Regions from separate parts of the Homo sapiens genome. Here all the other regions are linked to region 1. Evidence: promoter capture Hi-C in human tissues and cell types (Jung and others, 2019). All regions are on one chromosome and are shown on one strand. The core of a region is centred on a gene start or on the middle of the fragment in contact, and the rest is flanking DNA. Distances in the headings are between cores, read along the strand shown.

Region 1 (4,108 bases), core at 1-2,500:
CTCAAGTGATCCACCCACCTGGGCCTCCCGAAGTTCTGGGATTACAGGCGTGAACCACCGCGTCCGGCCAAACCTCTAAAAGGGTAGTTAAAATGAAAATATAACTAAGTTCCTAAATAAGTAAATAAGCAACCCTTTGTTAAAAAAACAATAGTACATTTAAAAATTGATTATATTATGCCTCTGCATGGGAAGTTATGCCTCTGAACAGCGGCATGGGAAATTAAGTAGGGACATCTGGGATCATGTCTATCCAATTCCAATCTGCCATTGTATTCCTATGCAGGAGCTGCAAAACTGCAAATCTACTTGACATCCCAAGTGAAACCCAATAGAGTTAGCAGAGTCAAAACGGCACAGGGAGCTGTTAGCAACCTGTTCTCAAAACGTCAAAGCAGATACCTAACTTCTTTAAAACATGGAAAACTATGTTCAGCAGCCCAGAGAAAAGTAACTGCTTTCTATGCGACCACCAAAAGCAAGGTTAGAAAGTGTTCTCTATCAGGCTTTAGGCTGAAATGGGGGCAGGGCTTGCAGATTTTCCCAGGACTCAACTCCAGGATTCCCAGCGTGAATCAGAGATGCCAACAGACAACTCACTTGGAGGCAAGATTCTTAGCGAGCTATCAAGAAAGTCCCTCACTCTCTAAAATTGTCCCCGCCCCTACAAAGAGAGGGGTGTGAAGTGTAGACACGGCTAAACCACTATTCCCACTCTGTCAGTGTCATCCTCTCCCGCCCAACCAATCTCCGTTCCATCCTCCCGCGGGCGGCTAAGATAATAAAGACCCTAGGAGGGAATCTTAGCAAGGCCAATTCCGCGAGTTCCGAAGCAAAAGCACAGGTTTTCTTTCTTTTCCGAGTCTAACCCACGTGCACTCAGACGCTCTGCCCCTGCAAGTCGGAAATATGCCTTTACAGGAAGGCAAGCAAGCCAGATTCCAGACCTCACTCAGCGTCCCCAACAGGCCCAGCCGGCTCTCTGCTAAGCCTTCTCCACGATCTCTTTCTGAAGCTGTGAGAAACTTGAGCTCGAGCTCCGCGCTCAGAAAGGGGCGAGAAGGCAGTCGGGGCGCTCCCAAACCTATTGCCTTCACCTTATAGAGGATGACTGTCCTGCCGCTGTCTGTCACTAGAAACTGGTCTGTTTTGTCGCTCTGCTCCACGCCTAGGAGTCCTTCAGGCCCGGCGCTCAGGACTACCGAAGACAACGTGAATTCTTCCTCCAGCGCTGCCATTTTGAGCAAACCTAAGTACGGCCGCGCTCACTCCCGGCAGGCCTCGCGCTTTCTCTCGCGAGAATGAACGGGCCTGAGGGGGCGAGTGCTTGCCAAACCAGGAACCTGCTCTCGCAGCCTGCGACCTCTGGCGGGCGGAAGGAGCGAGCGCGACTGTGAATTTAGCCAGGTGGGCTGGGCCGGCTTGCGTCAGACTCCGCCTCCCGAGACCACGCCTCGCCGAGTCCCGGATGTGCTCCAGGAAGGGATAGGGTAGGCGCGGAAGTGCTGCTTACTGGGTCCTGAATCGGCTGCGTGCTGTTCTAGGTGGGGACTTGAGAGACTGTAGATGGGTCTAGGGAGTGGTCGAATATAAATAAGCTAGATTTTTTTTTTTTTAATTGCAAGGGAACTCCCTAGGAATTCCATCCATGGCCTTGTGGAACGATCTGCCAAAGAAAAAATATTTATCTCTGTAGGTAAACTCCCAATAACGTGCTGTTCCTACGTGAAATGCTTAATTCCCCCCAAGTTTCTTGGAACCCTCTAGAGATCTCCAGTCTTTTCAGTCTTTCAGGCCTTCTGAGTTCTCTGACTCCCCTTCTCTGAGCCCCAGTGGGGAAAATCTCTCCTCAGCTTACAGGAAATTCAGACTAGTTTGATGAAGGTGAAGTTGAAGGTCCCCTGTGTGATTTTTGGCAAGGTTTTTATTTCCGGGAGAAATGTATGTTTCTCAGATAAGCATGGCAGATTCAATCAATAATGTTAAATAAATAAGTAAAGATAAATTGTGATGTTCTTAGGGAGAAACCATTTAATAGGCAATTACTAAACAAATGTACCCAGTGTGACAAAGTGCCTCAGTTTAGATTTAAGCATCCACCAGATCGCCATGTGTGTTGTTTCTCATTGCCCCAACATGACGACATGGGCAAAAGGAGAATATCCAGCTACTGTGAAGGAATCAAATGCAGTCTATTTTTATAATGCTAATAGGTCTTTTGTTGTTCAAAAGTAGTGGCATTATCATGGCTCACTGCAGCCTCTAACTCTTGGGCTAAATAAAGCAATCCTCCTGCTTCAGCCTCCCGAATAACTGGGACTACAGGCATCCATCACCACGCCCGGCTAATTTTTGTATTTTTTGCAGACATGGAGTCTTGCTTTGTTGCCCAAGGTGATCTTGAACTCTGATAATCTTTTAATTTTTAGGCTGGGTTGTGAGATCAAGAGGATATAGTTTATTATTATGCTTCATAACTTACTTTGTGATAGGTGGTAAGAAGAAAAACATTAAACTCAGAAGGGAGAGATAAAGCGTGGGTGTGTGGGGGAGGAAGGAGTGGTCTGTGTATGTGAAATTTTCACTAGGATGACCACAGGCCTCCTTGAGAGGATGTCTTTTTTTTTTTTTTTTTTTTTTTGAGACAGGGTCTTGCTCTGTCGCCCAGGCTGGAGTGACGCAGTCTCAACTCACTGCAATCTCTGCTTCCCGGATTTAAGCTATCCTCCCACCTCAGCCTCCCGAGTACCTGGGACTACAGACATGCACCACCATGCCCGGCTAATTTTTGTATTTTTTGTAAAGATGGGGTTTCACCGTATTGCCCAAGCTGACCTTGAATTCCTGGGCTGAAATGACCCTCCCCCCTTGGCCTCCTAGAGTGCTGGGATTACAGAGCCACAGTGCCTGGCCCAAGGGTATCTTTTGAGGATGGCATGAAGGAGGGGAGGGAGCGATCATGCAGTTAACTAGGGGAGGGAGCGATCATGCAGTTAACTAAGAGCATTCTCAGTAGCAAGTGCGCCTGGGGCACCAACAGGGAGATTCCCTAGAAGTCTATCGCAGTTATTGTAGTTACCAGGTGAGAGGTGATGAGGGCACCATCAGTAGCAAGGCTTTTCTTTCTTTCTTTCTTTTTTCTTTTTTGAGGCGGAGTCTTGCACTGTAGCCCAGGCTGGAGTGCAGTGGCGCAATCTCGGCTCACTGCAAGCTCTGCGCCCCGGGTTCACGCCATTCCCCTGCCTCAGCCTCCTGAGCTGGGACTACAGGCGCCCGCCACCATGCCCGGCTGACTTGTTTGTATTTTTAGTAGAGACAGGGTTTCACCTTGTTAGCCAGGATGGTCTCGATCCCCTGACCTCGTGATTCGCCCGCCTCGGCCTCCCAAAGTGCTGGGATTACAGGCGTGAGCCACTGCGCCCAGCCTTTTTTTTTCTTTTTTGAGACAGAGGTTCACTCTTGTCACGAAGGCTGGAGTGCAATGGCACAATCTCGGCTCTCTGCAACCTGCAACCTCTGCCCCCCGGGTTCAAGCGATTCTCCTGTCTCAGCCTCCCGAGTAGCTGGGATTAGAGGCACCCACCCCACACCTGGCTAATTTTTGTATTTTTAGTAGAGACGGGGTTTCACCATGTTGGCCAGGTTGGTCTCGAACTCCTGACCTCAGGTGATCCACCCGCCTCAGCCTCCCAAAGTGCTGGGATTACAGGCCTGAGCCACCGCGCCCGGCCACTTCACATTTTCGTATTCATGGCACCAGCAATTGTCTGTGATCCATACAAAGAGCTTAATACACGTTTGTTGAATAAGTCACACTTAACGTTGCAAGCTAGGATAATAAATAGAACGTGGACTTGATCCATTAAGGGAAAGTAAGACTTCCTGGTTGAGAAAGCTGGAACTGTGCTTGCATATTCGTCTGTAAATTTGAGTCTAAGTTTGGTAAACTATTAAAGGAGATTACAATCCTTTCTGGAAAGGACACCAGCTATAATAAGGGAACTAGGAGTCTTCTGCAACCAAGCCTAAGCTAGGAACGGGTCAGGAGGCGTTCCACTTCCAATGTGCATCCATCAAGGTCAATGAGCAAGAAGAGGGTCTGGCTATC
Region 2 (4,108 bases), core at 1,030-3,529, 510 kb after region 1:
TCTAAAAAATAAGATCAAGACTGCATAACCACAATATTATTATTAGCATAATAGAATTGATATAATTCTCTAATAATTCCCTAACCTATCTAAAGTCCAGTCCATAATCAAATTTACCTGTTTTTCTGTCCCCAAAGTTTTTTTTTTAAATAGCTGATTTGTTTAAACCAGGAACTGATTAAAGGTTATAAAATTTTAAAGTTGGAATTCTGCTTCAATAAGAGTAAACATACTCTGAGTGAGGACTCAAGGGCACCTTTGTAAGTTCCTGGGTTTCAGTTCCAAGTTCATTGTTGTATTCTGGATAGTGAAGATTGCCAAGCCAGCGACCAATGGATAAGTGAGGTAGTTAAGTCACTTTTCATTGTCTGAACATCAGTTGTATTTGGCATAACACAAAAACTTTGATGAAATAATGGTTCTATTTTTGCCTTTCGAATAGTCATTATATAGGAAACTTACTTTTTTTTTTGAGTCTTGTTCTGTTGCTGGGCTAGAATGCAGTGGCGTGATCACAGCTCACTGCAACCTCTGCCTCCTGGGTTCAAGCGATTCTCCTGCCTCAGCCTCCCAAGTAGCTGGGACTACAGGCATGCGCCACCACGCCCAGCTAATTTTTGTATTTTTAGTAGAGACAGGGTTTCACCATGTTGGCCAGGATGGTCTCCATCTCTTGACCTTGTGATCTGCCTGCCTTGGCCTCCCAAGGTGCTAGGATTACAGGTGTGAGTCACTGTGCCCGGCCATTTTTTTACACTAAAAAAATGAATGAGGTAAATGGAGAAAGTAAAATCAAAAGAACGTAATCTTATCAACTAAGAGTATTGTACCACTTGTAATATGTAGGTTAAACTTAACCATCATAAACATCAATGAAAATTTTTTATGAGGCTGTAAGATTTGTAAAGCCTAGCTAAGAGTTTTGTTAATGTAAGAAGTCATCATTGCAAACAAAGGGGCTTGGGTCATCTACTGATGTTTGTTGTTGTGAGACTTGGCCTGTGAAGTAAATGATTCAGTAATCAGCAACCCCTGTTAAAGAGGCTGACTTTTAGAAAAGGCAAATTGATAGGCGATTGGTTGAAACTTCTGTACTCTCTCTGGGGGAGGAAGTGATATCTGTAACTACCTTTCTTCTGAGAAGAATTTGTTTGTTAATTTGGAGATGGCATGTCATGGTGTCACCCAGACTGGAAGTAGAGTGGCGTGATTATAGCTCACTACAGCCTTGAAATCCTGAGCTCAAGTGATCCTCCTGCTTCAGCCTCCCCAGTAGCTGGGACAACAAAGTGTGCGCCAGCATAGTTGATTAATTTTTGTTTTGTATTTTTTGTAGAGATGGGGTTTTGCTTTGTTGCCCAGGCTGGTCTTGAGTGATCCTGGCTTCAGGTGATCCTCTTGCCTCATCCTCCCAAAGTGTTGAGATTACAGGTGTGAGCTACTGCACCTGGCCCTCAGAAGAGTTTTGATTAAATAGTTTCTATGGTAGTTAAAAATTTTTTTGGAAAAAATATTTAGTGAATGAGTTAACAGTATTTATTTAAAATTGTCACAGGGTTGGGCCCTCTGAAATATGTTATTTAGTCAAATTGTATTATCATTGCAGTTTTACAGATGAGCAAACAGACTTTGTGAGATTAAGTTACTTGCTTAAGAGCACAGAGCCAGTCCAGAGTGGAAGTGTGGTTTTGAACTGAAGTCTTTCTGATCTGAAAGGGCATGTTGCTTTGCTTTATCCTCAACTACTACTTGTGTATACTTCAGCTTTGTTTTGTTTTGTTTTGTTTTTGAGACAGAGTCTCGCTCTGTTGCCTAGGCTGGAATACAATGGTGTGATCTTAGCTCACTGCAACCTCTGCCTTCTGGGTTCAAGCGATTCTCCTGCCTCAGCTTCCCAAGTAGTTGGGATTACAGGCGCCCACCACCATTCCCGGCTAATTTTTGTATTTTTAGTAGTGACGGGGTTTCACCATGCTGGTCAGGCTGGTCTTGAACTCCTGACCTCAGGTGATCCACCCACCTCGGCCTCCCAAAGTGTTGGGATTACAGGCGTGAGCCACCGCGTCCGGCCTACTTCAGCATTTTGCAGATGTTTTTATCTCCTTTAGCCTAACAAACTTGGAAAACAGGCACAAAAAGAACTGTATTATTCTAGAAATGAAAAAGATTGTGCCTCAGGATCACTAAAATAATTATAATATTAGTGTGGTGGAGACAAGAATTTCAGTATTTAAGCTCCTTGCCAGTGTTGTTTTTTTTTTTTTTTAATTCCCCAGGCTTTTAAAATAGAGACGCAGTTCAACAACCAACCTACCTTCTTTCCTTCCTTCCCTCCCTCCCTCCCTCCCTCCCTTCCTCCCTTCCTTCCTTCCTTCCTTCCTTTTTGCCTTCCTGCCTCTCTTCTTTTCTCTTCTCTTCTCTTTTCTTTTTTCTTTTCTTTTTTTTTGAGACAGAGTTTCACTCTGTCATCCAGGCTGGAGTGCCATGGTGTGATCACAGCTCACCTCAGCTTTGATGACCTTCTGGGGCTCAGGTGATCCTCCCACCCCAGCCTCCCAAGTAGCTGGGACTATAGGCACATGCCACCACAACCGGCTAATTTTTTTCTGTTTTTTTGTTTTGTTTTCTGTTTTGTAGAAATGGTGTCTTGCCATGTTGCCCAGGCTGGTCTTGAACTACTGGGTTCAAGCAATCCTCCTACCTTGGCCTCCCAAAGTGTTGGGATTACATATGTGAACCGCTGCACCCAGCCTTAACAACATTTCTTAATTCATTGTTAGATCCAGTTACAAACTATTTTTTAAAAAATTTATATATATATAAGCTTTATGTATTTATTTTAAACTCTTTATTCTGAAATAATTATAGGTTAACAGGAAGTGGCAAAGATAATACAGAGAGGTCCCACGTACCCTTCACCTACTTTCCCCCAGTTATTACGTCTTACATAACTCTGGCACCATATCAAAACAAGGAAATTAACATTAGTACAAGGAATGTGTGTATTCTGTGTCATTTTGATCATGTGTAGACTGATTTAACCACGAATACAATTAAGATACAGAACTGCTCCATCATCGTGAAGATCTCCCTTGTGCTGCCTCCTACCTTTTACAATTTTTTTTTACAATTTTTTTTGAAAAACTTCTTTTTTTGTTGTTTCTTTCTCAGGAAATGTACTATTCCTTTAGAGTCACACTCAACCACCCTTCCTTACTACCTTTTCTAACCCTTGGCAACCACTAATCTGTTCTTCATCTCCCTAATTTTGCCACTTTGAGAGTGTTATAGAAATGGAATCATATAGCATATGACCTTTTCAGATGGCTTTTTTCCACTCACCATGGTCCTCTTGAGATCCATCCATGCTGTTTTTTGTTTTTGTTTTGAGACAGGGTCTTGCTCTGTCGCCCAGACTGGAGTGCAGTGGAGTGATCTCAGCTCACTGCAACTTCAGCCTCCTGGGTACAAGCAGTCAGCCTCCCAAGAAGCTAGTATTATGGGTATGCGCCGCCATGCCTGGCTAATTTTTGTATTTTTAGTAGAGATGGGGTTTTGCCATGTTGGCCAGGCTGGTCTCGAACTCCTGGACTCAGGTGATCCACCTGCCTCAGGCTCCCAAAGTGCTGGGATTATAGGCTCGGCCTTTATTTTCATTTTAAATTCAGTTTCTGAATTGTTAGTTCTGAGAGCATGATTATATCTAAGCAGTGAGTGATTTTATATCATTACTGACTAAAGGATTTAGTTTGTATGGTAATGAAAAAAATTTTTAGGAAAGTTTTTGGAAAAAATACCTTCATTAGGCTAAGCTCTTTAATAAAACACTTCAGAAGTAACTAAGGATTTGATAAAAGAAATAACCTAGGCTGGGTGTAGTGGCTCACACCTGTAATCCCAGCTCTTGGGGAGACTGAGGTGAGTGGATCACCTGAGGTCAGGAGTTCGAGACCAGCCTAGCCAACATGGTGAAGACCTGTCTCTACTAAAAATGCAAAAATCAGCCAGGTGTGGTAGCACGTGCATGTAATACCAGCTACTGGTGAGGCTGAGGCAGGAGAGTCGCTTGAACTGAGGAGGCGGTGGTTGCAGTGAGCCTAATCATGCC
Region 3 (4,108 bases), core at 595-3,094, 490 kb after region 1:
CTCAAGCCATCCACCTACCTTGGCCTCCCAAAGTTCTCTCTCTCTCTCTCTTTTTTTTTTTTTTTTTGAGATGGAGTCTGTCTGTCGCCCAGGCTGGAGTGCCATGGTGCTATCTCAGCTCACTGCAACCTCTGCCTCCCGGGTTCAAGCGATTCTCGTGCCTCAGCCTCCCGAGTAGCTGGGATTACAGGTGCCCGACACCACACCTGGCTAATTTTTGTATTTTTAGTAGAGACGGGGGTGGGGGTTTCTATGTATACAGAACTTGAGTTCTATGTCTCAAGTCAGAGATGAGGCTGTGGTTTTTATGGTTGGGTGGCTGGAAGAATGGGACATTAAAGAAAAAAAAGAATAGGGAAGTCAGGAGGGAGAATGGCTCTTAGGAGTTTAGAATGAAGATGAATTTGGTTTTGATTGTGTTGAGTTTAAGGAGCTTGTAGAAAGTTGAAATCAGAATTTTAATCCTAGAAGGAACTTCAGAGATTATTGGGGCAACAGCTAAGGAAGTTTAGGGCCCTGAAAAGTTAAGAGGACTCAGTGAGGTCTCACAATTAGTTAAAGTAGAACCAACATGGAAGCTTCAAGATTCCCAGTCCATGACTTTTCTCTCTGCTTCACACTGAGAAATGCTGAAGGTTCTTAGCGGTGGTGTCTCCTCACCCAGGCAGCAGTGCTCAATAGAGAGTAGGAAGTGCCATAGTTATGTTGGGGAGTGAGGACTTTATTTTCTATCTTTTAATTTTATTTTTAAATTTTTTGAGACAGGGTCTTGCTCTGTCACCCAGCCTGGAGTGCAGTGGTGCGATCTCAGCTCACTGCAGCCTCCGCATCCCAGGTTTAAGCGATTCTCCCACCTCAGCTTCCCAAGTAGCTGGGATCACAGGGGCATGCCATCACACCCGGCTAATTTTTGTGTTTTTAGTGGATATGGGGTTTCACCATGTTGGCCAGGCTGGTTATGTTTATTTTATTTTTTTGAGACGGAGTCTCGCTTCTTCGCCTAAGCTGGAGTGCAATGGCTCGATCTCGACTCACTGCAACCTCTGCCTCCCAGGTTCGAGCAATTCTCCTGCCTCAGCCTTCCCAGTAGCTGGGATTACAGTCATGTGCCACCATGCCCAGCTAATTTTTGTATTTGTAGTAGAGACAGGGTTTCACTCAGTTGGCCAGTCTGATCTCGAACTCCTGAACTCAAGTGATCCACCTACCTTGGCCTCCCAAAGTGCTGGGATTACAGGCGTGAGCCACTGCGCCAAGCCCAGGCTGGTTATTTTTTAATTAAAAGTTTTTTATTATGGACATTTTCAGACATACAAAAGTAGAAAGAAGAGTGTAATCAATGCCCATGTACCCATTGTCCAACTTCAACAGCTCTCAGTATTGTTTCATCTGTTTCCTCCCTCTGCATCAATTATAGTGAAGCAAAAGTAATCTGGTGACCTTAAATTTTGTGTATTAGCAAGTAAGAAGAGTCAAAAAGTTTAATAGGGTATGTTCTTAGGTCTCTGCATGGGGTCTAGAGTAAAGAGAATTAATTCCAGAATTCCTATGCTGCCGCAATTTTGTGTCTTTGGGCGAATTAACTTAAGTCTTCTGGGACTAAGTCTTGTTTTCCATGACAATGAAAACTTATTGCTTGTTAAAAATTTTAAAATACAATGCCAGACACAGGGGCTCACGCCTGTAATCCCAACATTTTGGGAGGCTGAGGCGGGCGGATCATGAGGTCAAGAGTTGGAGACCGGCCTGGCCGACATGGTGAAACCCCGTCTCTACTAAAAATACAAAAATTAGCCGGGCATAGCCGGTTATGGTGGTGTGTGCCTGTAATCTCAGCTACTCAGGAGGTTGAGGAAGGAGAATCGCTTGAACCTGGGAGGCGGAGGTTGCAGTGAGCTGAGATTGTGCCACTGCACTCTAGCCTGGGTGACAGAGCGAGGCTCTATCTCGAAAAAAAAAAATTATAAAATACAGATGAATAAAAAAGCTGTAATAGCATCACCTGGAGATACCCAGTTTTATTTTTGTAGTAAACTTTTTTTTTTTTTTTTTTTTTTTGAGATGGAGTCTTGCTCTTTGTCCCAGGCTAGAGTACAATGGTGTGATCTTGGCTCACTGCAACTTCCCCCTCCCGAGTTCAAGCAATTCTCCTGCCTCAGCCTCCTGAGTAGCTGGGATTACAGGCGCCTGCCACCACGCCTGGTTAAGTTTTGTATTTTTAGTAGAGACAGGGTTTCACCATATCGGCCAGGCTGGTCTTGAACTCCTGATCTCAGGTGATCCACCCATCTCCGCCTCCCAAAGTGCTAGGATTACAGGTGTGAGCCACCGCACCTGGCCTGTAATAAACTTTTCATTTTGTAATAATTTTAGATTTACAGAAAATTAAGAAGTATAGGTCAGAGTTCTCATAAACTCTTTACCCAGTTTTCCCCATTGTTAATGTCTTAGGTTTCCACGGCACGTTTGTCAAATGTAAGAAACCATTGTTGGTACATTTCTTTTTTTTTTTTTTTTTCCGACAGAGTCTGGCTCTGTCACCCAGGGTGGAGTTCAGTGGCATGATCTCGGCTCACTGCAAGCTCCGCCTCCCGGGTTCACGCCATTCTCCTTCCTCAACCTCCCGAGTAGCTAGGACTACAGGCGCCTGCCACCACGCCTGGCTAATTGTTTCCATTTTTAGTAGAGATGGGGTTTCACCATGTTAGCCAGGATGGTCTCGATCTCCTGACCTTGTGATCCACTTGGCTTGGCCTCCCAAAGTGCTGGGATTACATGCGTGAGCCACCACACCCAGCCATTGTTGGTACATTTCTATTAACTAATTTTTAGACTTTATTTGGATTTCACCAGTTTTCCCACTAATACCCTTTTTCTGTTCCAGAATCTATCCAGAATCCTGCAATGAATGTAGCAGTTTTGTCTTCTTAGTCTTTTTTGGGCTGTGATAGCCTCTCAGACTTTGTTTTTCATGACAGTTTTCAGGAGTACTATTTGGATATTTAATAGAATGGTCCTCAATTTGGGTTTCTCTGGTATTTTCTTCATGATTAGACTGTGTCTTATCCTTCCTGATTTTCTTATGCAAAATATTCAATACTTACATATTTCACAAAAATGAGATGACCATTATTTATAATCTGTTTTTTACTTACAAAATGGGATTATACCATATATATTATTTTGTAACTTGCTTTTGTCACTTTAAATCTTCCCAGTAACCTTATTGTTAACACTGTATAGAAAACTCTGTTCTCAGTTTTAAAGTCTGATTTGAAAATACAGCATTAGAACATAATCTGTTGGTAAATTGAAGATGGCTTTTAAGGGGCTGTGATAGTACTGGTGGTAGTAGTAATGTGATTCTGTGTCTACACAGATAATCTGGAAGCAAAAATCAAGAAACAAAAAGAATAGACAATGTTTTATAGTAATATAATTTTCTTGGCAAGCAGTAACCTTTTCTAGAAGTCAGCCTTTTAGTATAATTTGCTTGCTTTTTTTTTTTTTTTTTTGAGATGGAGTCTCACTCTGCCACCAGGCTGGAGTACAATGCCGCGATCTTAGCTCACTGCAACCTCTGCCTCCCAGGTTCAAGCGATTCTCCTGCCTCAGCTTCCCAAGTAGCTGGGATTACAGGAATGCACCACCAACCCCAGCTAATTTTTTGTGTTTTTAGTAGAGACAGGGTTTCACCATGTTGGCCAGGATGGTCTCCATCTCTTGACCTCGTGATCCGCCTGCCTCGGCCTCCCAAAGTGCTGGGATTACAGGCATGAGCCACTGTGCCCAGCCTTGCTTGCTTCTTAAGTATGGGTTTTTTGTTTCTTCATATCTTTTAAATTAATAAGCATGTTAAGTGATTTGGGAAGAGGCTCAAACTCTTCAAGAAACAATTTGGAATTCTTGAAACTAAGAAGGCTAGCTCCAGAATTGCTGGAAACCCTGAAAAATGGATCAGGAAAAATCAAAGTAATAGATGGAAAAAAAATCTCAATTTTAGCTGTTGATATAATTTTTAGAAAATTCAGTTTATCTCAGTCATTAAAACAGATGGCAGAAGGCCCATCAGGATATTTCTTTTATGTATTTAAAACATTCTATACTC
Region 4 (4,108 bases), core at 1,196-3,695, 380 kb after region 1:
AAATATTTCAGTACAATTATAATTTTTAACCACTAGTTAAGACAGGCATATATTTTGACTATATATTTAAAGAGCTGTGTAGAATATTCATAGTAATTCAGAATAACTACAGAAACCAAAATATCTAAGTATTTAGTTTTGTTATTGAAACTTAGAACTAGCTTTGCTCCAGTGATGGACTGTAGAAAAATAAAAGCTCTGAGTCTAACATTTTAAGTAAACTTACTTGGATATGAAAATAAATGGACTTTTAGACTTACTGACAAATGTTACGTGTTCTCCCTGCTCTCTATCCTCTCCCCAGAATATTAGAATAATGGCCAAGTATTATACTCGGATAACAATGAAAAGGATGGCACAGCTTCTGGATCTATCTGTTGATGTAAGTAGTAATCAACTTTGAGTTATTTGTAGGCATTCCTTTTGAATGTTGACTTGTAAAAATTGAGTAAGAAAATCAATGTTATGATTTAATTTTATGTTTAGGTAATAGAGTAATAGTTTCCCAAGCAATCTTGAGTACCAAAAACTAACTTAAGTATCAAGTGATCCTAGGTCTTGTTGGAACAGTGTTGTCTTTAGGTCCATGTTTCTATGTTGACAAAATGCATAGCACACAAAGAGGAGTTAACCCAAGTGTGTAGTAATGGCCTGAAAGCCATTTCTGTCCCCAGAAGGATCTGTGACAGTTTAGGTGGTAAGACTCATGGAACATTAGAGTTGGAAGGTTTGTTCCTTGATCAGCTTGTCAGCTCTTGTCACTTATGAATGAGAGTACCAGAGTCCTTAGAAGTCAAGTGTCTTGTCCGTGGTACATACTTGCCAAGTAGCAGAGCATATATTCTAACCCAGCATTTCTGGAAACAAATTAACTGTACCATACTGCCTTTTAAGGGGAAACTTTGTAGAAAAGGGAGTAGACCAACTTGCCGTTGGCATGGATACCAGCAGTATTGAGCTTGCAAGGAGGCAGATTCAAACTCACCCCTGACTGAGTCTACTCAGATTCTATTCATTCCCTAGACTATCAGTAAAATAAGTACTTATTATAGGAAGTCAGCAGTTGCTAACTCTTTTTTTTTTTTTTTTTTTTTTTTTGAGGCAGAGTCTCACCTTGTCGCCCAGGTGGGAGTGCATTGGTGCGATCTCAGCTCACTTCAACCTCTACCTCCCAGGGTTCAGGCGATTCTCCTGCCTCAGCCTCCTGAGTAGCTGGGACTACAGGCGTGTGCCACCATGCCTGGCTAATTTTGGTATTTTTAGTAGAGATGGGGTTTCACCATGTTGCTCAGGCTGGTCTTGAACTCCTGACCTCAAGTGATTCACCCAATTCAGCCTCCCAAAGTGCTGGGATTACAGGTGTGAGCCACCACACCCAGCTGAGTGTTACTAACTCTTAAGAATGAATTCCCCTGCATATTCTTGGATGAAGAGTTCAGAAAATGCTTTTCTGAAGTTTTGTTTATTGTCTGTAATTTATCCTGTCTTAATCCAATTTATCTTTCTCTCTTGCAGGAGTCCGAAGCCTTTCTCTCAAATCTAGTAGTTAACAAGACCATCTTTGCTAAAGTAGACAGATTAGCAGGAATTATCAACTTCCAGAGACCCAAGGATCCAAATAATTTATTAAATGACTGGTCTCAGAAACTGAACTCATTAATGTCTCTGGTTAACAAAACTACGCATCTCATAGCCAAAGAGGAGATGATACATAATCTACAATAAGGGTCTTAGTGCTTTAGAAAAAAGTTAAAATTGGAAGTCATTAAAAAAAGACTGTTATAATGGTGTATATGTTGGGGTTTTTTTTCTAAGCTTCTTTGTCTTAAATTTTAAAATAGTGAATATGTTTGAGACTCCCTTTGACCTTTCAGTTCCCCAAGTTCATTGTTAACTTTGCATTTGCAATTGGTGCAAAAATACAGATTTCTGTCGTCTGAATACACAAAAAGTTGTGTCATAACTTACCCAGATATGTTTTTCTATCATTTGAAACCTTTTTAGCTACTGTTTGTTTTCATTCAACTAACAAACATATTCCAATAATAAAAGCAGTATATACATATTTCCTTTCTACAGTTACCTCTGATTCTCAACATTTTGTGGGGTAGTGATTTGGCAAGTGTTTTTTAAATAAAACAAATCTCATTGTAAAGCTATCAGTCATTTAGTAGAATAGAAAAGCAACATAGAGCATACAAGAACATTTGGGATAGAGTTGTGATTTGTGAAGAATTTGTACTTTGATATTGTGGCGGAAAGTCTAGACTGAGTGTGTATGCTGGTAAACTGTAGACTTTTTTTTTTTTTTTTTTGAGTCCGGCTGGTTCCAATCACAGTAGCTTGATTGCTTTCAGCCCTCATCCTCTCACTTGATCAGTTGTTCAACAGAATCAGCTGACATAATTGACACAGTTTATTGGGTGTTAAGTCCGCTCTATAGGGATAGTGACTACTTTTTTTTTTTTTTTTTTTTTGCTCTTCTTCCTCTCCCCTTTCTTTATATGGGTTTAAATTTAACATAAAGTTGTTTTTATAAGGCTTATTTGTGGCTTTAACTTGTAAGTCTGATTACATCATTATTGTTCCAAATTCATTATCTCTGTAGGAACTTTTAGTTCCATTATATGAACACTGGATAACCTAATTTTTTTTAATGCTTTAAAAAAATGGCAAAAAGACGTCAGGCCACCCTCATAGTAAGTGGTGTAGTATTAAAATATTTTCACGGAATTAAAAGTAGCTTGCTGTCAAAGAAACACCTGAGATGAATTGGTGTGAACGAATTTTGCAAGTTTAATTTGATTTATTTCAGAGAAAATAGAAAAAACAATGTTAGAAGGTTATTTAAAATGATACTTAAATAAAGAAAGTGTGAGGTCTACTTTAAAAAAATTCAAATGAAGAGAAAAAGAAAAACAGCATTCTAGAAATGGCATTTCTCCTAATTAATTTTCCACTTAATGGAAGATTATCAATTGTCCTATTTTATGATCCCAGGACTGAAGACAGTTGTGGGATATCTGTCATATTTATCCTGTGAGTCATTGTGAATAATGACATACAGTACTGAAGTAATCTGATTTTATTCTTTGGAAATTCAATGCATTGGTCACACTAATAACATCAACATCTGCTATCACTTATCTTTTTAAAACTAACCAAAAAAGGCCGGGTGCAGTGGATCCCAGCACTTTGGGAGGCCAAGGCGGGTGGATCATCTAAGGTCAGGATTTCGAGACTAGCCTGGCCAACATGGCAAAACCCTGTCTCTACTAAAAAAAATACAAAAATTTGCCGGGCGTGGTGGCGTGTGCCTGTAGTCCCAGTTACTTGGGAGGCTGAGGTGGGAGAATTCCTTGAAGCCAGGAGGCGGAGGTTGCAGTGAGCCAAGATCACACCATTGCACTCCAGCCTGGGTGACAGAGTGAGACTCCGTCTCAAAAAAAAAAAAACAAAACTGGAAAGTTCAGAAACAGAAGTTCACACTAACAGAGTATGGTTTTAATTTTCCTTTGAATGAAAAGGATAGAAGATAAAATTGTGTATTGTTAACATGTAAATAAAATTGGAGCTAATTTGAAACTAGCTTCTCAATAACTTCATCTTTCTAGAGACTCATTACCTGTGGGCTTGTCAAACCTGGACTATTTGGCCAAATAGGTTGCTATAGAGATTGCAAGTGTTCCTCCTCTTTATTTTTTTCATATTTTTTGAGACGGAGTTTCACTCTTGTTGCCCAGGCTGGATTGCAGTGTCACGATCTCGGCTCACTGCAACCTTTGCCTCCCATATTCAAGCAGTTCTCCTGCCTCAACCTCCCAAGTAGCTGGGATTATAGGCGCCTGCCACCACACCTAGCTAATTTTTGTGTTTTTAGTAGAGATGGTTTCATCATGTTGGCCGGGCTGGTCTCAAACTCCTGACCTCAGGTGATCCACCCGCCTTGGCTGCCCAAAGTGCTGGGATTACAGGCATGAGCCACTGCACCCAACTCCTCTTTCGTCTTTCTTTAACACACACTAGGCTCTTTGTGTATTATGATTCAGTGCTATTTGTAACTGTGTCCCAGTGACCAAATTGCACTCGACTCGATCAGCTGTTCATC
Region 5 (4,108 bases), core at 467-2,966, 290 kb after region 1:
AAAAGAGTAAAAATTAAAGAAATAGTTCATCATAAAATGGAAACACATAATGAACTTCTTTCAACATTCCAAGTTGTTGTGTGGTTTGGTTTTGTTTTTAAGAGATGGGGTCTTGCTTTGTCACACAGGCTGGAGTGCAGTGGTGTGATCATTTCTCACTGCAACCTTCCTGGGCCCAAGGGATCCTCCCACCTCAGCCTCCTGAGCAGCTGGGACTACAGACACATGCCACTGCATATGTCTAATTTTTTTTTTTTTGGTAGAGACAGGGTCTCACTATGTTGCCCAGGCTGATCTTGAACTCCCGGCCTCAACTGATCCTCCCACCTCAGCCTCCCAAGTAGCTGGGACGACAGGTGTGCACCACCACGCCCAGCTGTTTTGTTGTTGTTGTTTAGAGACAGAGGTCTCACTACCTTGCCTAGGCTGGTTTCAAACTCCTGACCTCAAGCAATCCTCCCGCTTCCACCCTCTAGAGCATTCTGCCTCCTAGAGCACTGGGATTATAGGCATGAGCCACCACACTGGCCAACATTCTAAGTTTGTTTTTGTTTTTGTTTTTGAGACAGAGTCTTGTTCTGTCACAGAGGCTCGAGTGCAGTGGCATGATCTCAGCTCACTGCAACCTCCACCTCCCGAGTTCAAGCGATCCTCCTGCCTCAGCCTCCCAAGTAGCTGGGATTATAGACTAATTTTTTTGTGTCTTAGTAGAGACAGGGATTCACCACGTTGGCCAGGCTGGTCTTGAACTCCTGACCTCAAGTGACCCTCCCACCTCAGCCTCCCAAAGTGCTGGGATTACTGGCATGAGCCACCACACTAGCCAACATTCTAAGTTTTTAAAATCACAGAGTAGTAAGGAGAATTAATGATCCAGAGAAAAGACGTTACCATCTATAAACTCCTGCGCATTCAGAACTGTCTTAAACCCTTTATAAACCTTATTGCTATACCTCTGAGATTCCTCTTTTGCAGATGGGTAAAAAGAAGTTCAGAAAAATTAAATGATTCAGAACTGGAAGTAAAATTGTGTTGTTTCAAAGCAAGGCTGTTTCCACTACACTGATAATTCCTAAATGATTCCTAAATGCTAGTGCACAGGTTCATTGCCAAATGGAAAAAACAAAGCAAGTGCGGTCTGTTTTCAGAAAGCTAAATTTATTCATCACATAACTACTGAAATTGTATTCCTTCTAATATTTAATGCTAAAATATTCTTTCAGAAAAGAAAGGATATTTTGACATGAAAATTCTCTCAAATCATAAAATTCATAAAAACAAGATTTTAAATGACAAATGAATAAAAGAATAATGGTGGTAGAAATAATTACTTTGTAAGTTTTTTTTTTTTTGAAACAGAGTTTTGCTCTTTCATCCAGGCTGGAGTGCAGTGGCACGATCTCAGCTCACTGCAACCTCCGCCTCCCAGGTTCAAGTGATTCTCCTGCCTCAGCCTCCTGAGTAGCTACGATTATAGGCAATCGCCACCACGCCCAGCTAATTTTGTAATTTTAGTAGAGATGGGGTTTCACCATGATGGCCAGGTTGGTCTCAATTCCTGACCTCAGATGATCCACCTGCCTTGGCCTCCCAAAGTGCTGGGGTTACGGGTATGAGCCACTGCGCCCAGCTACCTTGTTTTAAAACATCCTTACTTTGCAACATGAAAAACAGATGATCTTACATCAATCCCCAAAATTTCTTTTAAATTTTACTGACCCATGAAATACAAGACTGGCAACCACTGTCCTATAATCACTAGCTTTCAATTTACCCATCAGTGGTTCATGAAATCATTTTACCTGGTCAATACATGAATATTCTTCTTTCTTTTTTTCTTTCTTCCTTCTTTGATAAAATAGAATAGAAAAACAGAAAACATCAGGAGGTAAAGACAAGTAGGTAAAAAAGCCGGGCGTGGTGGCTCATGCCTGTAATCCCAGCACTTTGGGAGGCCAAGGCAGGTGGATCACCTGAGGTCGGGAGTTCGAGACCAGCCTGACCAACATGGAGAAACCCCGTCTCTACTAAAAATACAAAATTAGCCAGGCGTGGTGGCACTATGCCTGTAATCCCAGCTACTCGGGAGGCTGAGGCAGGAGAATCGCTTGAACCCGGGAGGCAGAGGTTGCAGTGAGCCGAGATCACACCACTGCACTTTAGCCTGGGTGACAGAGCGAGACTCCGTCTCAAAAAAAAAAAAAAAAAAAGCAAGACAAGTAGAAAAAAATGGTTAACTAATGTTTGTTTTAAGTTTATAAATACATAAATGCTAGTTTATATGGGGTTGGGATGTATAACGTACTTACTGCAGGTAAATGACTGTCAAAAAACTTTGAAAACCTTTGTACTGTTTTTCTTAGAGTAGTACATATTCATTATTAAATATTTGTAAAACACAGGAAAATTATCAAGAAGAATGTTTAAAATCATCTATAATCTCATTACCCGCAGGTCACTATTTGTATTGCTAGGCGCAGTATGTTTTCTTTCTTTCTTTTTTTTTTTTTTCTTTTTGAGATAGGGTCTCACTCTGTTGCCCAGGCTGAAGTGCAGTAGTGCGATTTCTGCAGCCTCATCCTCCTGGGCTCAAGGAATCCTCCCACCTTAGCCTCTCGATTAGCTAGGACTATAGGTGTGCACCATGATGCCCTGCTAATTTTTGTTTTTTATTTTTTAAAAAGATGGGCATTATGTTGCCCAAGTTGGTCTCGAACTCCTGGGCTCAAGTGATCCTCTCACCTCGGCCTCCCAAATTCCTGGGATTACAGACATGAGCCACCACACCCAGCCAAGGCACAGTATGTTTTCATATTACAGAGACACTAGCTGTAAACACTAAATATTCCTAAACCCTCTAAAGTAGCAGCATTATTTAAATAGAAGACTGAGCCTGGCACAGTGGTGGATGCCTGTAGTGCCAGCCACTCAAGAAGCTGAGGCAGGAGGATTGCTTGAGCCCAGGAGTTCAAGCCTGCAGTGTGCAATGATGTTGCCTGTGAACAGTCACTGCACTCTAGCGTGGGCAACACATCGAGAACCCCATCTGTAAAAAATAAAATAATAAAATAAATAGAAGACTGATCGTCAAGGACAATGTGCCACAAATGGGGGAATGCCCTTAGACAAGATGAACTATTATCATTTCAGACACTTAGGTATCCATCAATCTCTCTGATCATATCAAGAGTTGGAATTGATTTCTAGGCACCTTGCTCACGAAGGAATGCAATCTCCCATCTTAAAGGTAAGCATCTGATTCCACCATTAACATTTTCAACAAAGATTCCATCAAATCAGATGATGTATTTGCCTGGAGTTTTGTTTCTACTTGTTAAATATGGTTTATTTTTAGCTGTAGGAGTGATGGAATTTGTGTTAACAGGCCCTGGTGAGAATAATCAGTTCACAGCCAAGCTCGGGTGCAGCCAATGTTCATGTGTAATGAAGGATGACTTTGAAAATACAGCAAATCCAGCTCACTCACTCTTGTGAGGAGTCCGAGGAGTCCGAGGAGGTTTTCATAGTGAGAAAGCATGGCTGGGTGCAGTGGCTCATGCCTGTAATACCAACACTTTGGGAGGCCGAGGCAGGAGGATCACAAGGTCAGGAGATCAAGACCATCCTGGCTAACACAGTGAAACCCCATCTCTACTAAAAATACAAAAAAAATTAGCCGGGCGTGGTTGCGGGCGCCTGTGGTCCCAGCTACTCGGGAGGCTGAAGCAGGAGAATTGCTTGAACCTGGGAGGTGGAGGTTGCAGTGAGCCAAGATCACACCACTGCACTCCAGCCTGGGCAGCAGAGCGAGACTCTGTCTCAAAAAAATAAATAAATAAATAGTGAGAAAGTATACATTGTGGGAAAGAAAGAAAGTAGCCAGGGTCTCACAATGCCCAGAGCCCTGACTATTAGTATGAACTCATTCCAGACAACCAGGAGAACTCCTCCAGGGCCAATCATGGAGACTTTTTCAGGATTAGGAGAAGGTCACCTGAGACAGCACCTCGGTGCCATTAGGACTCACAGGGACCTCAAAACTTATGTTTGCTGCAAAGGAGAGGTGCATGTAAGCATGGTGCTCAGAACTCACCAGCATGTGAAAAGA
Region 6 (4,108 bases), core at 1,092-3,591, 260 kb before region 1:
AATAGGAAAATACTTTTCATGAAATGGTTTCAAGGATTGTGAACTTGGCAGGTAAAGTATAACAGGTACTGAAAATACTTTTAGCCAAGGAAATCTATTGATGCAAATTAAATGTATTTATAAGCCCAAGGCCTGGGGTAGAAACATCCTAAGAATATCACAAATGTACAGTTTACTGCCTGAATTATTGGAAGCAAAATAGCTGTATTATGTAGATCTTTCTGAATAGCAGAAGCTTGTCAAAGATTTCTGCTTGTCACAGAAAAGCAGCTTTTGGAATTCATTATGTTCTATAAGAATGTATGGTTTTCAGGCCAGGCGTGGTGGCTCATGTCTATAATCCCAGCACTTTGGGAGGCCGAGGCAGGCGGATCACCTGGGATCGGGAGTTCGAGACCAGCCTGACCAACATGGAGAAACCCTGTCTCTACTAAAAATACAAAATTAGCCAGGCGTGGTGGCGCATGCCTGTAATCCCAGTTACTTGGGAGGCTGAGGCAGGAGAATTGCTTGAACCCGGGAGGCAGAGGTTGTGGTGAGCCGAGATGGCATCATTGCACTCCAGACTGGGCAACAACAGTGAAACTCCATCTCAAAAAAAAAAAAAAAGAAGTATGTTTTTCAAAAATTACTTCTGAAGGACTAAAGCTCTGTAGTTGATGAAACTATAAAATGTCTATGTATTTGTATGGTGATAGAAACTATACAACACTTTATACCGTTAAATACACATATGAAATTAACATCTTCCTGGTTTCAGATTTCCATAAAATTTATCCTTTTTGTACAATTTGGCAAGGCTAACAGCTATAGAAAACATATTAACCAACCAACCATTGCTTCATTAGAAACTGCACCAAATCCAATGTCAAAAACATTACTTTATTTTTCTAGGATGAAATGTCCTATTACGTACAAAAGAATTGCTGTTTAGAATTTGCCACAATTTGTTAAAAACATAGCAATCTATTGCCTACAGGTAGGAAAGTTCTTGCTGCAACAAATTTTAAATGATTAAGCCCATATATATTTATATATATGAATAAATAGTACAGAAATACTGTGACGTGATGAGATGCAGAATAATTTTATAACTCATTAAAATGTAGAATTCTTGCATCAGCACAGTGCATACAATATGTAACATTTTTTAAAAAAGTAAAAGGACAAAATAACCCATATTTAACTACTTCCATCTTAATACTTTAAGCAAAAATTTTTTCATGTTTTCATATTGAGCGATTAGTCTTTAGTTTGTAAGCATAAGTTTAAGTGACATCTTTATGTACAAAAAGGAATGGGCTTCATTAGATAAAATTAACCCAGAATAACCTGTACACCTGAGCCTGTAATAAGAAAGAATCGGGAACTGTAGCAACATCTTTCTTTTAAGAAACTGAGGTCTGGGAAAGGTTTTGCATAGCAGGGAAACATTAAAAGGAAAGAAACTTTGAAAAACAATAATTAGATAAATTCCAGAAGTTGGTAGGACAAAGCTAATATGAGTTAGTGCAAAATCTAGTAAAAATTTTTGCAAAGCTGCATAATCCAACTATGGCAGATTTTATAGAAGCTATTACCACAATGCAGTGATACAACGTGTAAGAACACTGAAAGGAAAAACATGCAAAATACATCTTCCTCTGTGGTTTCCATTTTCTCGCTACTGTTTACACTACTTTTCCTTACGTGGAAGAAACAAACAAACCAACAAACAGAAAACAAACCCAATCAACAAATAACACAGAGGATGAGGTCATCTAAAAAATGCCCTTCATAAAATATAAGTAGCTGTGTGTAATTGGTAATTTGCCTGGTATCACAGAATGTACAGATGAAGGCAATGTGTATCTTGTCGCATTACCGTTCTCGTTAGTATGATCAACTGATGCAACAGGATTAGCACCCCTGAAGATTTTTCTCTGACGTGATGACAATGGACTGGGAATGATAAAACGAGGGGCCACTGCTGTCCTGGAGAAATCCAGGCACAATTAGACTCTTCTGCCTTTCATGACCTTGCAGGCCTCCCTCCCCACAAAGGCTTACAGATAATCATTAGCGCACATTCAAAGACACCTCTGTCTGTGGGAGAAAAATTATCTCCATTTATTTTGTTTCATATACATCCATAGTTGAATTTTAATACAAAAGAAAAAAATTAGAATCTGACAAATGTTTACAAACAAGATACCTTCAAATAGATTTTACTCATTTTAGCCTGGTGCAGAGTAATTGACAAATTGTACTGTTATATTCAAGGCAACAGAGTCTGTAGTCCAGGACCACTTAGCCCAACCTTTATGCAAGCTTAATTTTAATCTACCATGAACAATAAACTCATTGTTGATTCCCAGTTGTGTGTGTGTGCACATGTGTACATAGCAGCTCCTTTCATAGAAAGAAAAGACATCTAGAGGTCGTCTTGTACTTTTACCTACAGGAATCATGATAAGATACAGATGATTATATGTAACCGGGGCTGGATTTTATAAGAAAAAATAATTAGCTGACAAATGAGGGCAGCAATAAAAAAGCGTCTTTTTTGCAACAATAAATAAATACAGTCAAAAGTTTTCTGTGAGACTCTAAACCAGCTTCTTCACTGAAGAGCAGACGTGGCATTTCCATGGAGTTACACTTGACCCCATAGTATCTTTTTTTCTTGCTTTCTTTTTCTTTTTTTTTCAATAAACAAAGTTTTCTCGCTTCTGCCACAATAGTAAAACCATCTGATCTTGACAAGATAATGGTGTCGTTGACTTTGCTTTTTTCTTGTCCGTTGGACAAAATTGGCCAAGAATATAATTGGACTGTTATGACCAATAAAAACGAAGTTTAGGTCAAGTCTTGTCAGGATAGCCTGACTAAAAACATCTGGCTCCTTAATTTAAAATAGTTCAGACAACCAGATTCTTGCTGTGTTTTATGTTAGGTTAACACGCTGAACTTTAAGAAGCTGTAGACTGCAGTTTGTTGTTATGAGACCTACAGAATATAGAAAAAAGGGAACAATTAAGCACCCTTCATTTTTGAAAACAATGATGCTTTATGCGGATGCCAAGGTCAGTCAGTCTGGGAGAAGCAGCCATGTTCTTTCATTCACCCTTGGCAAGCGAATAGAAAAGAACGATTAAGAAAATTTTAACCTATAATATTAAAACTTTTCACTGTACACTAAACATAATAGCTCACTGGAAAAAGCCAATATTTAAATATATATATATATATATATATATATATATATATATATATTTGTCTAATAAAGATTACAACATTTTCAGCCAACTGGACAAATAGAGGCATTTACAGAAGCATTACCATTGTGGTGAAAGGTGTGTGTGTGTGTGTGTGTGTGTGTGTGTGTGTGTGTTTATTTACATTGATGAGGGGAATATAAAGGGAAAAATTACGCTAAAACAAAAGAAAAAGCAATCTTAAAATCACATTTTTCTATTAAAGTCCAGAAAGTCTCCCTTCTAGTTTCACAGTTTTATTCACAACTTTCATTAGTAAACCAAATTACTGTACAGTTACCAGGACTAAGTCAAAGGACTTTATATTGAAATAGCAGATAAATACAGTATTCCAAGAGTTTACAATTTTTAAATACATTGTTCAACATGGCTGCTAGAGTAAATTTTTTACCACGATACATCTTTAACATTAAAAAATTATATTAACTAATCTGACTTTTTGGGGGGCAATTTTGAATTAGGTAATCACGAGGTACAATAAAACAAAGAGTGACCCCAACATCCAGTTCTGATTCCAGTTAAAAATTCAGACTAAAGATATCACAATCTGTAAGAAAAGAAAGAATATGGATGGTATAAATGATGAATTATAACAAAGTGCAGTAATGAAAACAATGTGCAAACAATGCTGGAGATCATAAAATGGGAAAATATGGCAAAGGAAATTCTGAAAATCCATAAATAAATCAATTTTCAATAACTGGCTAGTTATGTTTCATTCTGCCTTAAATCTGGAAAACAATAGAAATTCCCTAAAAAGGCAACAGCAAGTTGCCCTTATACAACTCTTTACATTGTAATTTTGTTTTGTTTTGTTTTGTTTTGAAACAAGGTCTCACTCTGTAGCACAG

What was found. The method cuts DNA at HindIII sites, captures the fragments that hold promoters and counts their contacts. A contact is called where the count stands out against the background at its distance.
Region 2: a fragment that was not itself captured here is called in contact with the fragment with the promoter of NOL11 in region 1 in 1 of the 25 tissues and cell types used here (hippocampus).
Region 3: a fragment that was not itself captured here is called in contact with the fragment with the promoter of NOL11 in region 1 in 1 of the 25 tissues and cell types used here (mesendoderm cells).
Region 4: a fragment that was not itself captured here is called in contact with the fragment with the promoter of NOL11 in region 1 in 1 of the 25 tissues and cell types used here (mesendoderm cells).
Region 5: a contact is called between a fragment that was not itself captured here and the fragment with the promoter of NOL11 in region 1, in 1 of the 25 tissues and cell types used here (mesendoderm cells).
Region 6: a contact is called between a fragment that was not itself captured here and the fragment with the promoter of NOL11 in region 1, in 1 of the 25 tissues and cell types used here (lymphoblastoid cells).

Annotation. Positions count from the first base shown.
Region 1 is chr17:67,715,078-67,719,185 of GRCh38, reverse strand. NOL11 (nucleolar protein 11) reads right to left here and starts at 1,250. Exons shown (of 18, transcript NM_015462.5): 1 at 1,098-1,250. The coding sequence starts at 1,238. It overlaps LOC101928045 (a long non-coding RNA gene), which reads left to right and starts at 1,508. Exons shown (of 4, transcript NR_188294.1): 1 at 1,508-1,544. RefSeq lists enhancers at 1-77, 1,000-1,189, 1,260-1,339 and a silencer at 640-729. The HindIII fragment of the contact is 26,229 bases long and covers 1-4,108 here.
Region 2 is chr17:67,207,279-67,211,386 of GRCh38, reverse strand. The region is part of intron 5 of HELZ (helicase with zinc finger); the gene reads left to right. Among named protein-coding and RNA genes, the nearest start is that of HELZ-AS1, 35 kb to the left of the region's middle. The HindIII fragment of the contact is 5,627 bases long and covers 1-4,108 here.
Region 3 is chr17:67,230,003-67,234,110 of GRCh38, reverse strand. All of the region lies in intron 3 of HELZ (helicase with zinc finger), which reads left to right. Among named protein-coding and RNA genes, the nearest start is that of HELZ-AS1, 13 kb to the left of the region's middle. The HindIII fragment of the contact is 5,838 bases long and covers 1-4,108 here.
Region 4 is chr17:67,338,460-67,342,567 of GRCh38, reverse strand. PSMD12 (proteasome 26S subunit, non-ATPase 12) reads left to right here. Exons shown (of 11, transcript NM_002816.5): 10 at 305-382; 11 at 1,516-4,108. The coding sequence ends at 1,725. Among named protein-coding and RNA genes, the nearest start is that of PSMD12, 26 kb to the left of the region's middle. The HindIII fragment of the contact is 5,273 bases long and covers 1-4,108 here.
Region 5 is chr17:67,426,942-67,431,049 of GRCh38, reverse strand. The region is part of intron 1 of PITPNC1 (phosphatidylinositol transfer protein cytoplasmic 1); the gene reads right to left. Among named protein-coding and RNA genes, the nearest start is that of MIR548AA2, 42 kb to the left of the region's middle. The HindIII fragment of the contact is 8,731 bases long and covers 1-4,108 here.
Region 6 is chr17:67,981,132-67,985,239 of GRCh38, reverse strand. BPTF (bromodomain PHD finger transcription factor) reads right to left here. Exons shown (of 28, transcript NM_182641.4): 28 at 862-2,988. The coding sequence ends at 2,952. Among named protein-coding and RNA genes, the nearest start is that of C17orf58, 13 kb to the left of the region's middle. The HindIII fragment of the contact is 8,005 bases long and covers 1-4,108 here.